Regions from separate parts of the Homo sapiens genome. Here regions 1 and 3 are each linked to region 2. Evidence: promoter capture Hi-C in 16 types of primary human blood cells and fetal thymus (Javierre and others, 2016). All regions are on one chromosome and are shown on one strand. Each heading gives the region's core, a stretch centred on a gene start or on the middle of the fragment in contact. The rest is flanking DNA. Distances are from core to core; before and after follow the strand shown. Region 1 has its middle 47 kb from the start of PTPN1. Region 2 holds the start of SNAI1 (snail family transcriptional repressor 1). Region 3 has its middle 25 kb from the start of PTPN1.

Region 1 (3,850 bases), core at 1,143-3,642, 480 kb before region 2:
CCAGGCTGGAGTGCAGTGGCACAATCTCGGCTCACTACAGCCTCCGCCTCCTGGGTTCAAGCGATTCTCCTGTCTCAGCCTCCTGAGTAGCTGGGAGTACAAGCGCGTGCCATCACACCCAGCTAATTTTTGTATTTTTAGTAGAGACAGGGTTTCACCATATTGGCCAAGATGGTCTTGAACTCCTGACCTCGTGATCCACCCACCTCAGCCTCCCAAAGTGCTGGGATTACAAGCGTGAGCCACTGCACCCGGCCCAGTATATTTATTTTTAAAGGAAACTTAATAACTCTACTGCATCAGCCAACTCGAGCTATGTTTTACTGCAATAACAAACAGCCCCAGCATCTCAGGAGCTTGTTAATGACAAAGGTCGATTTCTTATTCATATTGAGAATATGAATCCTCAGTTATTTTCTCATTACTTGTTGGTTGTGGGTCACTGCAGCTCTGGGCCGTATGTCATCTTTACTCTGATCCAGGTTAAAGGTGCAGCCCATTCCTGGGGCAGGCCATTCTCACAGCAGAGATAAACCACATGACAAAGCCGCTTCTCGAAAGCTTAGCTCACACTCTGTTGCCCAAAGGAAGTCACACAGCCAAGCCTGACTTCAGCCGGGAGGGTCACCAGGGAATTGCCAATGGGATAAATACTTTGACAATAATACAATCTACCACATCTACTGTAAAGGGAAAACCAGCACCACTTGCTCTCAATAGAAGGTGACCACAAAAAGTAAATATTATGAAAACATGTAACTTTATTAAATTCTAGCCAAATAATTTTGCCTTCTGAAGGCACTAAGTCTGAGGCCCACTCTCAAACAGAAAGTTCGGAAGGGAGGCAGGTAAGTGTTAGAAAGGCGTTAATGTCATGTTCCTATCAAACTGAGACTGCCGCCTAGATGCCATCAGAATGATTGACAGAGAATGAAATGTTATTTGATACTGGGGTGCTGTGCCCACCAAGATCTCCCCACGAATCCCACTGGTATTTGTTCTATACTTTGGAAGACCCAGCTTCAGAATCGCTCTAGGGGAGTAGAGAAGGAAACTCAGTGTCTGAGGGAGGGATGATAATGACAGCCACCTGTTAGGGGTGCCGCTATGTTGCACAGTTTCATGAATGGGGCCCCTGAAGTTGTGCAACATGGCGGTCCTGGAGAGAATCTCTGCGGGTTACCTCATTTAATTCCCACCTCCGCTCTGCCAGGTAGGCAGGATTACCTCCATTTCGCAGCTGAAAAAACTCAGATTCAGGGAAGTTCAGTGCCTGGCTCAGGACCGCAGCTGGAGGGGTCGGGGAGAGGCTCTAACCCTCCGGCTTGAAGGTGTAGTTTCAGACTTGGCCACTTGGTGTCACTCTCTCCAAACTGTCGGAAGAACCTCTGAGCTGGCCGGTTTGTGGGGGACTCCGGGCCCAGCTAGTTGCACACTGATCCCCAGTCCGGCAAAGCGGCCCCTCCTGTCCTCCCTCCGCCCTGTCACCCTTGCGGGGTGCAGAATTTCTGCCTGTTCCCTGTTTGAACTGGGTCTCTGAGTACGCCTGAGCCAAGTACTTCACAGGCATGATCTCACTCGAGCCTGCCAGCAGCAATGTGGTCTCAGACTACAGATGAGGAAACTGAGGCCAACGGCGTAGGAGCAACTTGCCCAGCTAGTAAGTGGCAGTCAGAGTTTGAACTCAGGTCTGAGTTAGAAGCTTGGCGTTTTGATGCCCAGAAAGTGCATGGTAGGACAGTTGTATTAATTCTCGATTTTTCATAGAATATATTTCCAACCCACTCCTCAGTCTCTGTAATGTCCTTGGCAATGAAAATAATCTGCCTGTTTAGAGAAGTGTATGTGTTTTTGGTCTTTTCTTTTTTTCATGTAGAAGTTAGTTTTCCCCTGACTACCAAGAGAACACTGAGGTGTTTACTTACTTAATTTTTAAAAAAATTATCTGAATATACCTTGATAATTATTTATTTTATTTTATTTTATTTTATTTTAAGACGGAGTCTCGCTCTGTTGCCCAGGCTGGAGTGCAGTGGTGTGATCTGGGCTCACTGTAACCTCTGCCTCCCAGGTTCAAGTGATTCTCCTGCCTCAGCCTTCTGAGTAGCTGGGACTACAGGTGAGCACCACCACACCCAGCTAATTTTTTTTTTTTTTTGTATTTTTAGTAAAGACGCGGTTTCACTATGTTGCCCAGGCTGGTCTCAAACTCCTGGGCTCAAATGATCCTCCTGCCTCGGCCTCCTAGAGTGCTAGGATTTACAGGCATGGGCCACCACACCCGGCTGGTAATTATTTTTTTAAATTAGAAAATCTAAGTAAAAAGAACAAAATATAGCCAGAAGTGGTGGTGCATGCCTGTGGTCCCAGCTACTTGGGAGGCTGAAGCTGGAGGATCACTTGAGCCTAGAAGATCAAGGCTGCAGGGTGCTATGATTATGCCACTGTACTCTAGCCTAGGTGACAAAGTGAGACCCTGTCTCTGTATTTTTTAAAAAGAACAGACCGGGCACAGTGGCTCACACCTGTAATCCTAGCACTTTGGGAAGCTGAAACAGAGGGATCGTTTGAGCCCAGGAGTTCAAAACCAGCTTGGGCAACTTAGTGAGACTTCGTCTTTACAAAAAAAAATTTAATTAAAAATAAAAAATCAGCCAGGCATGGTGGCAAGTGCCTATAGTCCCAGCCACTCAGGAGGCTAAGCTGGGAGGATCACTTAAGCCCAGGAGGCAGAGGTTTCAATGAGTGGTGATCGCATCACTGCACTCCAGCCTGGGTGATAGAGCAAGATCTTGTCTCAAAATAAATAATTGATTAGAGAAATAATAAAAAAAGAACAAAATAAAAGTCGCTTCTAATTCACATCAGCCACCCAGAGATAAGTGCTATTGACACGTTGGAGCATATCCTTCAAGGCATTTTTCTCTCTGTCATCTATCAATGCATTAAAAAGTTCCATTTTTAAAAACTAACAAGGGATTGTATTCATATGCAAAAATTCAAAAGATACCAAAAGATTTACAGTGGGTCTTCTCCCTCTAATCCTTAACCCCCATCCCCAGCTTTAAAACTCCAAGCTTCCCTCCCCAGAATCCATTCTGGTTATCATTTCTTGGGGATCATTACAGAGACATCCAGAACACAGATAAGCAAATATGTGCGTGGATTCCTGTACTCATTTCTCTAAATAGAAGCACACCACACACCCTGTTCTGCACTGGGATTTTGTTTTTTTCAACTTAGCAATGTACCTTGGCAGATCTTTCCAGATCAGCACTAGGAGAGCATTCTTTGCACATTCCATTGTCTGAATATAATAATTTATCTAACAAGTTTTCTGGTGATAGTCACGGAGGTATTTCCAGGGTTTTTCTGCAACAAACAATGCTGCAATTAGTATCCCTTTCACAGAAGTCTTTCCATGTATTCAGAGCTATTTCTGATGGATACATTCTTAGCAACTGAATCGCCCAGTCATAGGGCAGGTGCGTTTAAACATTTTGACGCTGGTTGTCTAAATGCTCTCTAAGGTTGTACCTACCAATCGTCATTTGCACCGGCAACCTCCGTGAGCTCTGGTTTCCCCACGTCCTAGCCAAGGCCAAGTATGATTGGACTTCTTGATCTTGGCCTTGCCGATAGGGGAAAAAGGTGTTCACCATAGTTCTAATCTACATATTCATTGTTTATATGTTAGATTGGACATTTAAAAAATACGTTCAAAGACTGTTTATATTTCTTTTCTGGTGGCAAAGCATTCAAATTGTTAGTCTATTTTTCTCTTGGATAATTGTCTTTTTGTTGATCTGCTAGGGATTTTTATATACTAAGAAAATGAGGTATTTGTTTC
Region 2 (3,691 bases), core at 978-3,477:
TACCTTTTCTCCATGTCCAGAAAGTTTTTTACACATTTAGTAAATTTTCAAAAGACGTGATTGTGTTTTCTGCCCCAAAGATGCCGTTTCCTGGTCTGTGTGCTAGGATTCAGTGGGGGTGGGGAAGCCGACCTGAGAACCGTTCGGGTATAATAAATTACTATAAAGTGATTAGCCACCTTTACAGCCACTCTCTAAAACATATGCTATCATAGTTTTCCCCTAAGGCTCAGAGAGGTTAAGTTGCTTGCCCAAAGTCACACAGCAAGGAAGCAGAGCAAATGCCAAGGAACCATTTTTGTGAGAGTTTAGCAGGTACCGGCACTTTGCCAGGTGCTTCCCATATGCATTCCTGCATTTAGCCTGTATAGAAACCCCAAAAGCTGTTCTCATGCCCATCTGAAAGATAGAGAAAATGAGGCTCACAGAAGAGAAACATCAGCCTAAGTTTTGAGAAAGTTCTCAAAGAAGGATTCAGAGCCAGGCGGGGGGTCTGACAACATCCTGTCTGGCTAGGGAGGGGGCGGACCCGGGAGAGGGTGTGGCCGGGTGGGCCCCTTCACACCTGGCCCCCACAGCAAGGTGTTGGTTGCACCTTTCCCATATCCAGCTCCGACCCATTTGGCTGAGAAACAGGCTGCAGGGGATTGGGAAGGTGTCTGCTTTGCCCATCTGCTTAGCTGATGAAGAAAGTTTCTGCCAAACGTTTCCAGAGAGCCAGGCCCTGGAACTTGAGCTAGAAGTTAGAAGACTCGGGGCCTCAGTGTCCACAGCTTTGGGAATGAGAACAGCAAGCCCAGATTCACAAAAGCTGCCAGAGAGAGCAACGGTGGGGGCGCCTGGAGGGGCACGTACCAGTGTGGGTCCGGACATGGCCTTGTAGCAGCCAGGGCCTAGAGAAGGCCTTCCCGCAGGTTCCGCAGACGCAGGGCAGCGTGTGGCTTCGGATGTGCATCTTGAGGGCACCCAGGCTGAGGTATTCCTTGTTGCAGTATTTGCAGTTGAAGGCCTTTCGAGCCTGGAGATCCTTGGCCTCAGAGAGCTGGGCCAGCTGCTTGGGCACTTGGCCCAAGCCTGGGAAGGCAGCATAGGCCTCGGCCTCCAAGGAAGAGACTGAAGTAGAGGAGAAGGACGAAGGAGCCGGTGAGGGTGGGCTGGGGGGCTGGGAGCCTTTCCCACTGTCCTCATCTGACAGGGAGGTCAGCTCTGCCACCCTGGGACTCTCCTGGAGCCGAAGGGAGGCCCAGGCAATTGGCTGGGCTTGGGGCGCCAGGACAGAGTCCCAGATGAGCATTGGCAGCGAGGCGGTGGGGTTGAGGATCTCCGGAGGTGGGATGGCTGCCAGCAGGTGGGCCTGGTCGTAGGGCTGCTGGAAGGTAAACTCTGAGGGAGAAAAAGCAGAGTCAGGCGTTAATTAAATCATTCACTCAATCAACAAACATGAGCCCACCGCTGGCCAGGGGCTGGGTGGGGCCGATTCTCAATACATAATTAGATCAAAAAAATTATCCACAGGACAGACCAGGTTCCTGCCCTCCTCGCCCAGGTCACCCAATCTGAGTCTCTCACACGTAGGACCCCCAGTTGAAGGAGGTCATTTCCTGATCTCCCTCTCCTAAGTCCCCAGTCTCCAGCCTGAGGCCAGAACCCCATCATCCCAGCCCCGGAGCCACCACCCTGCCCCAATCCCCCTCCTCACACACATCTCGTCTCCCCACCCCTCCCCTCAACCCTCTGGACTCCGGACTCTCCCCAGCAGCGTCCAGAGGGCCCTCCTGACACAGGCCTCCTCTCCTTCCCCTCTTGCGGAGCTCCTCCGCCTCTCGCCGGCTACAAAGGCCCCCCAAGCTGAAGACCCCTGCCCTCTACACGGCACTCCCCCAACCACCCAGACAGATCCCCGGAACTGGGGACCCACTTGCCCGGTCTCCCGAGCCCGCAATGGTCCACAAAACATCCTGTGACTCGATCCTGGCTCAGGCAGGCCGCCTCCCTCAGGTGCCCCCCACGCAGCCTTCGCCTGTCTCCCCCAAACCTCCTGGAGCCCAGAACCCCTCCAACGCACCTGGATTAGAGTCCTGCAGCTCGCTGTAGTTAGGCTTCCGATTGGGGTCGGAGGGCTTCCTGACGAGGAAAGAGCGCGGCATAGTGGTCGAGGCACTGGGGTCGCCGATTCGCGCAGCAGTAGCGCAGAAGAACCACTCGCTAGGCCGTGCCGCGGCGCAATGAATGCAGCAGCGCCGCCAACTCCCTTAAGTACTCCGGGGGGGTGGTGGGGGGTGGGAGGGGCGGGGCCTTATCTGCCACGCCCCTTTGTCACCTCCGCGCCAATCGGAGGCTCGTCTCCGCCGAAGGCCACTCCCCGAGCAGGTGCGCCGGCTGCTGGCCGGGCTCGCGCCGCGTGGCGGTGAGAGCCCGGGCGGGGACTCCTCCGAGGCGGGGTTCGCTGGCGCAGCGCGGGTCGTCCCCGGTGCTGGGGCTGTCCGGGGCGGGACGTCGAGCGAAGCGAGGCCTCTGCGAGGTGGGACCCCGGCAGGACGCCGCGCGCCCACCGGCTCAGCGCCCGGTGGTCTGAGCGCTTCTGACGCCCCCTGGCGCTGCGCGCCGGCCGGGACACCTGACCTTCCGACGCCCGCCCCCGCCTCGGGCTTGGGAGGGGGCGGAAATTTCCTCCGCCCGGCTGGCGCCTGGAGAGCGTGGCATTGACGAGGGAAACGCACATCACTGGGGAGGAAGCGAGGAAAGGGACACCGCACGTGGCTCTCGGCGGCTTGAAATGCCACGGCCTTTTTGCAAAGCAGCCTGGCCCAGCTAGCCAAGAGCACCCGTTCCTTCCCTTATCCAGTGTTTACGGAGCGCCCAGCACGTGTGGGGCACTGTACCTGGGGCCAGGGCACAGCCCCGGACAGAACACTCAGAGCCTCTCCCGAAGGGTAGCTTCTGGTCCAGTGAGGGAGACAGACGAAGTAAACAGATAATTACAATGCAAAGGGAAGTGTGCTTTGGTGGGGGAGAGACGGGACGCGGCGACCGTTAAGAGGCGGGTCACCTGACAGGGGGTCGGGGTGACTTCCCAGAGGAAGTGAAGAATTATCAAGGGAAAAGGCCCGAGGGAAGAAGTGGCAACTGCTTCAGAGTAACTCCTAGAGAGCAGCTTCCAGGGATGGGGTGGGATGGGCATGCCCGGAGGGGTCAGATGTGCTGGGCCCCAGGGCCTCGTAGGAGTTTGGACTTTGCCTCAAGGGCACTGGGGAGCCACCGAAGGATTTTCAGCTGAGGAGGGACCTGGTTAGAGTTTCGTTGAAAAAGATCCCTGTAGGCTGGCGGGAGAAAGAAGGCATGGGCCGGGCGTGTCTCCTCACCCCGTGAAGATCCTCGATCCTGTGTCTAAAGGCTGTAACACGGCTCCATAGGGGCCCTGACTGAATGCATGTGGGGTGGGCCCAAGTGAGGGGCAGCTGCACCCCCACCCCAGCTTCCCTGGGAGGCGTACCAGGCCCGGGGGTGGCTCTGAAATAAACCTCACAGGTCTCACCGTTCTTGTTTCCACCTGTGAAGGAAGACTATAAAAACCTATAAGCACCCCACACCACCACCACCACCAACCTGAAGGGCAGAACTACTGTCTGTTTAGTCACTTGGTGCCGGGTGTGACAGCCGTGAACAAAATCGTCCTCCCCTGGTTCTAGCT
Region 3 (3,581 bases), core at 468-2,967, 500 kb before region 2:
CACGCGGACTATTTTCTTTTTCTTTTTAGATTTTAAAATTTATTTTCTTTTTCTTCTTACCTTTCTTAATTTTTTCCTTGAACCAGAACCCAGCTTGATTTCCCCCCAAATGTGCAACTGATAGACCTACTGTAGAGTCTTCATTATAATAACTTTTTACTTTCAAAAAATAAAGGCATTATTTACCTGCAGTAAAATCTATCCTATCTAGTATACAGTTCTGTGATTTTTTTTCTTTTTTCTTTTTTTTTGAGACAGGGTCTCGCTTTGTTGCCCAGGCTGGAGTGCAGTGGTGCAGTCTTGGTTCACTGCAGCCTCAACCACCTAGGCTCAAGCGATCCTCCCACCTCAGCGTCCCAAGTAACTGGGACTGCACTACAGGCAGGCGCCACCAAGCTTAACTAATTTTTTCTATTTTTTGTAGAGATGGGGCCTCATTATGTTGCCTAGGCTGGTCTCGGCTCAAGCGATTTGCCCAGTTCAGCCTCCCAAAGTGCTGGGATTACAGGTATAAGCCACCGCACCTGGCTGACTGGGTTCTGTATTTTTTGACAAATGCACAGTCATCTAACCACCACCACAGTCAAGGTTTAGAACCATTCTATTAATTGTCTTCCCAATTTCCTGGGGACCCTTTGTAGTCTACCCTTGTGCCCACTCCCAGCCTTTGGCAACCACTTAACTGTTTTCTGTTCCTATAGTTGTCCCTTTTTCAAAAGACTATATAAATGGAATCATATAACATGTACCCTCTGAGTCTGGCTTCTATAATTCAGCATGATGCTTTGGAGGTTCATCTACATCATCGTGTGTATTAAGAGTTCTCACCTGGGCGCGATGGCTCATGCCTCTCATCCCCACACTTTGGAGGCCAAGGCAGGTGGATCACCCGAGGTCAGGAGCTCAAAACCACCCTGGTCAACATGGTGAAACCCTGTCTCTACTAAAAATAGAAAAATTAGCTGGGCGTGGTGGCGGGCACCTGTAATCCCAGCTATTCGGGAGGCTGAGGCAGGAGAATTGCTTGCAAACGGGAGGTGGAGGTTGCAGTGAGCCAAGATCATGCTGCTGCACTCCAGCCTGGGTGATAAGAACGAAACTCCATCTCAAAAAAAAAAAGAGTTCTCATCTTGTTACTCGTGAGTAGTATTCCATTGTACAGATGTACTGCCGTTTGTTCAATCTTTCCTCAGTAGAGGGGCATTTAGATGGTTTCCCATATTTTGGCCTTTATGAATAAAGCCACTATAAACGTTCTTGTACAGGTTTTTGTGTTTTTATTAAATAAACAGTTTTTATTTCATTTGGGTATATTTCTAAAAGTGGGATTTTTACTTTATTTATTTATTTATTTATTTATTTATTTTTATAGAAACGGGGTCTTACTGTGTTGACCAGGCTGGTCTCAAACTCCTGACCTCAAGCAATCCTCCCATCTTGGCCTCCCAAAGTGCTGGGATTATAGGCATAAGCCACTATGCCTGGCCAGGATTGGTGAGTTGTATGATAACCGTAGGTTTAACTTTACAAACAAACAAACAAACCTGCCAAACTGTTTCCAAAGAAGCTGTACTGTAGGAGGCTGAGGCACGAGAATCCCTTGTACCCAGGAGGTGGAGGTTCCAGTGAGCCGAGATTGTGTCACTGCACCTCAACCTGGGCAACAGAGCAAGACTCTGTCTCAAAAAAAGAAAGAAAGAAAGAAAGAAAGAAAGAAAGAAAGAAAGAAAGAAAGAAAGAGAGAGAGAAAGAAAGAAAGAGGAAAGGAAGGAAGGAAGGAAGGAAGGAAAGAAAGAAAGAAAGAAAAAAAAAAACAACCAAAGAAGCTCTACCGTTGTGCATTTCCACCAGTGTATGGGAGTTCCAGTTGCTCTGCATCTTAGTCAGCACTTGATGTTGTCTGTTGTCATTTAGTTTATTTTTATTATTTTAACCATGCTGAAATGAATTTTAAAAGTAAAAGTGGCTGGGCATGGTGGCTCACGCCTGTAATCCCAGCACTTTGGGAGGCCGAGGTGGGCAGATCACCTGAGGTCAGGAGTTTGAAACTAGCCTGGCCAACATGGAGAAACCCCCGTCTCTACTAAAAATACAAAATTAGCCAGGCATGGTGGCACATCCCTACTCGGGAGGCTGAGGCAGGAGAATTGCTTGAACCTGGGAGGCGGAGGTTGCAGTGAGCTGAGATTGCACAATTGCACTCTAGCCTGGGCAACAAGACTGAAACTGTGTCAAAAAAAAAAAAAAAAAAAAGGAAAAGTGACCATGGATAAAGGCTAAAATTTATAACTCAGACTCTAAGGCCCTGTGTGAACTGAGCCCTGCCCATTTCACCAGGCCACTCTCTGTTCTCCAGTATCCTTTCAGGTCTGGCTACAGGGCCTTTGCACATGCTGTCTACTCTACTTAGGATGCCATTCCTGCTTTCTGCCTGGCTAATGCCTATTGTCACATGGATCTCGTCCTAAAGGCACTTCCTTGTGGGTATGCCTAGATTCTGTTTCCTTGTTACATGTTTTCGTATCTGCCTTTCTTATTTACCACAGTGGTTCTCAACTGGGAGTGATTTTGCCCCCCAGGGGCCATTTGACAATGTCTGGAAACATTTTTGGTTGTCAAAACCAGGGTAAGAATGCTACTGGCATCTAGTGGGTAGAGGCCAGAGACGCTGCTAAATATCCTACAATGCCCAGAACAGCCTACAGGAATGATCCAGTCAAAATTTCACTAATGCGGAGGTTGAGAAACCTGTATCACAACGTAATCAACTAATTGCTTTTTATGGCTGCCTTCCTGTTCCCATCTCACTCCCCCACTTCCCCATCTAGGCTTCCCTTACCCCCTCCTCGCCATGTGTATTTAGCTGTTTAATGCCTCCTTTTCCTGCTAGAGTATAAAGCCTAAGGGGCAAGGATTGTGTCTGTCTTGTTTTCTATATATTGCGTATCATAGGTGCTTAATAAATGTGTCAAATGAATAAAAGAGCAAATGAAAACTATCTTTCATAAAGCACATCTTTAAGGACACCAGAAAGCTTTCCTCTTGACTTCTGTCTTGGTAACTCTAAATATTATTTGGAAAAAAAATAAACAAGGTGGTGGGGAGGAGGGAGAGGGAGAGAAAAGCAGAGAAGAGGAGGACAAGGAGAAAAGGAAGAGGGAGATAGAGAACACTGTCTTTGTAGACTCAATCTGAGCTGGAATTCCAGCACTTAACTGTCACATAGTCAAGAGCAAGTCACTTTCCCTCTCTGAGCTCGTTTTTCTCAACTGTACAATGGGAATCAGAAAACGAAAGTAACTGTGCTAATGGCTGGCAACTACCCTGCACTTTATAAATGTTAGTTTTGTTCCTTTCTTCCTTTCCCCTCCTTCTCCTAAGTTTCCTGGCCAGCATCAGTGCTCACTCATCCTCCTCAGCCCACTCAAGAGAGCTGCCTGAAGCTAGATGGACAGTTCTATAAATGCTGGTGACGTATACCCAACCTCCGGCACCCGCATCTCTCTGCCCAGAGCCTGTGTGCTTCATGTGCGCATGGCAGGTCACATGTGTGGGAAGGGAAGTGTACTGGAGTTGCTGGC

What was found. Contacts are between HindIII fragments. The CHiCAGO score rates a contact against its expected background, and 5 or more counts as called.
Region 1: a fragment that was not itself captured here is called in contact with the fragment with the promoter of SNAI1 in region 2 in 3 of 17 cell types (activated CD4 T cells, naive CD8 T cells and endothelial precursors); the score reaches 6.6 in activated CD4 T cells.
Region 3: a fragment that was not itself captured here is called in contact with the fragment with the promoter of SNAI1 in region 2 in 1 of 17 cell types (monocytes); the score reaches 6.1 in monocytes.

Annotation. Positions count from the first base shown.
Region 1 is chr20:50,461,933-50,465,782 of GRCh38, reverse strand. No RefSeq gene overlaps it. Among named protein-coding and RNA genes, the nearest start is that of PTPN1, 47 kb to the left of the region's middle. The HindIII fragment of the contact is 1,375 bases long and covers 1,705-3,079 here.
Region 2 is chr20:49,981,516-49,985,206 of GRCh38, reverse strand. SNAI1 (snail family transcriptional repressor 1) reads right to left here and starts at 2,227. Exons shown (of 3, transcript NM_005985.4): 1 at 2,066-2,227; 2 at 856-1,383. The coding sequence starts at 2,147. RefSeq lists a silencer at 2,213-2,732 and an enhancer at 2,885-3,691. The HindIII fragment of the contact is 8,892 bases long and covers 1-3,691 here.
Region 3 is chr20:50,483,588-50,487,168 of GRCh38, reverse strand. No RefSeq gene overlaps it. Among named protein-coding and RNA genes, the nearest start is that of PTPN1, 25 kb to the left of the region's middle. RefSeq lists enhancers at 3,188-3,297, 3,338-3,387. The HindIII fragment of the contact is 2,638 bases long and covers 399-3,036 here.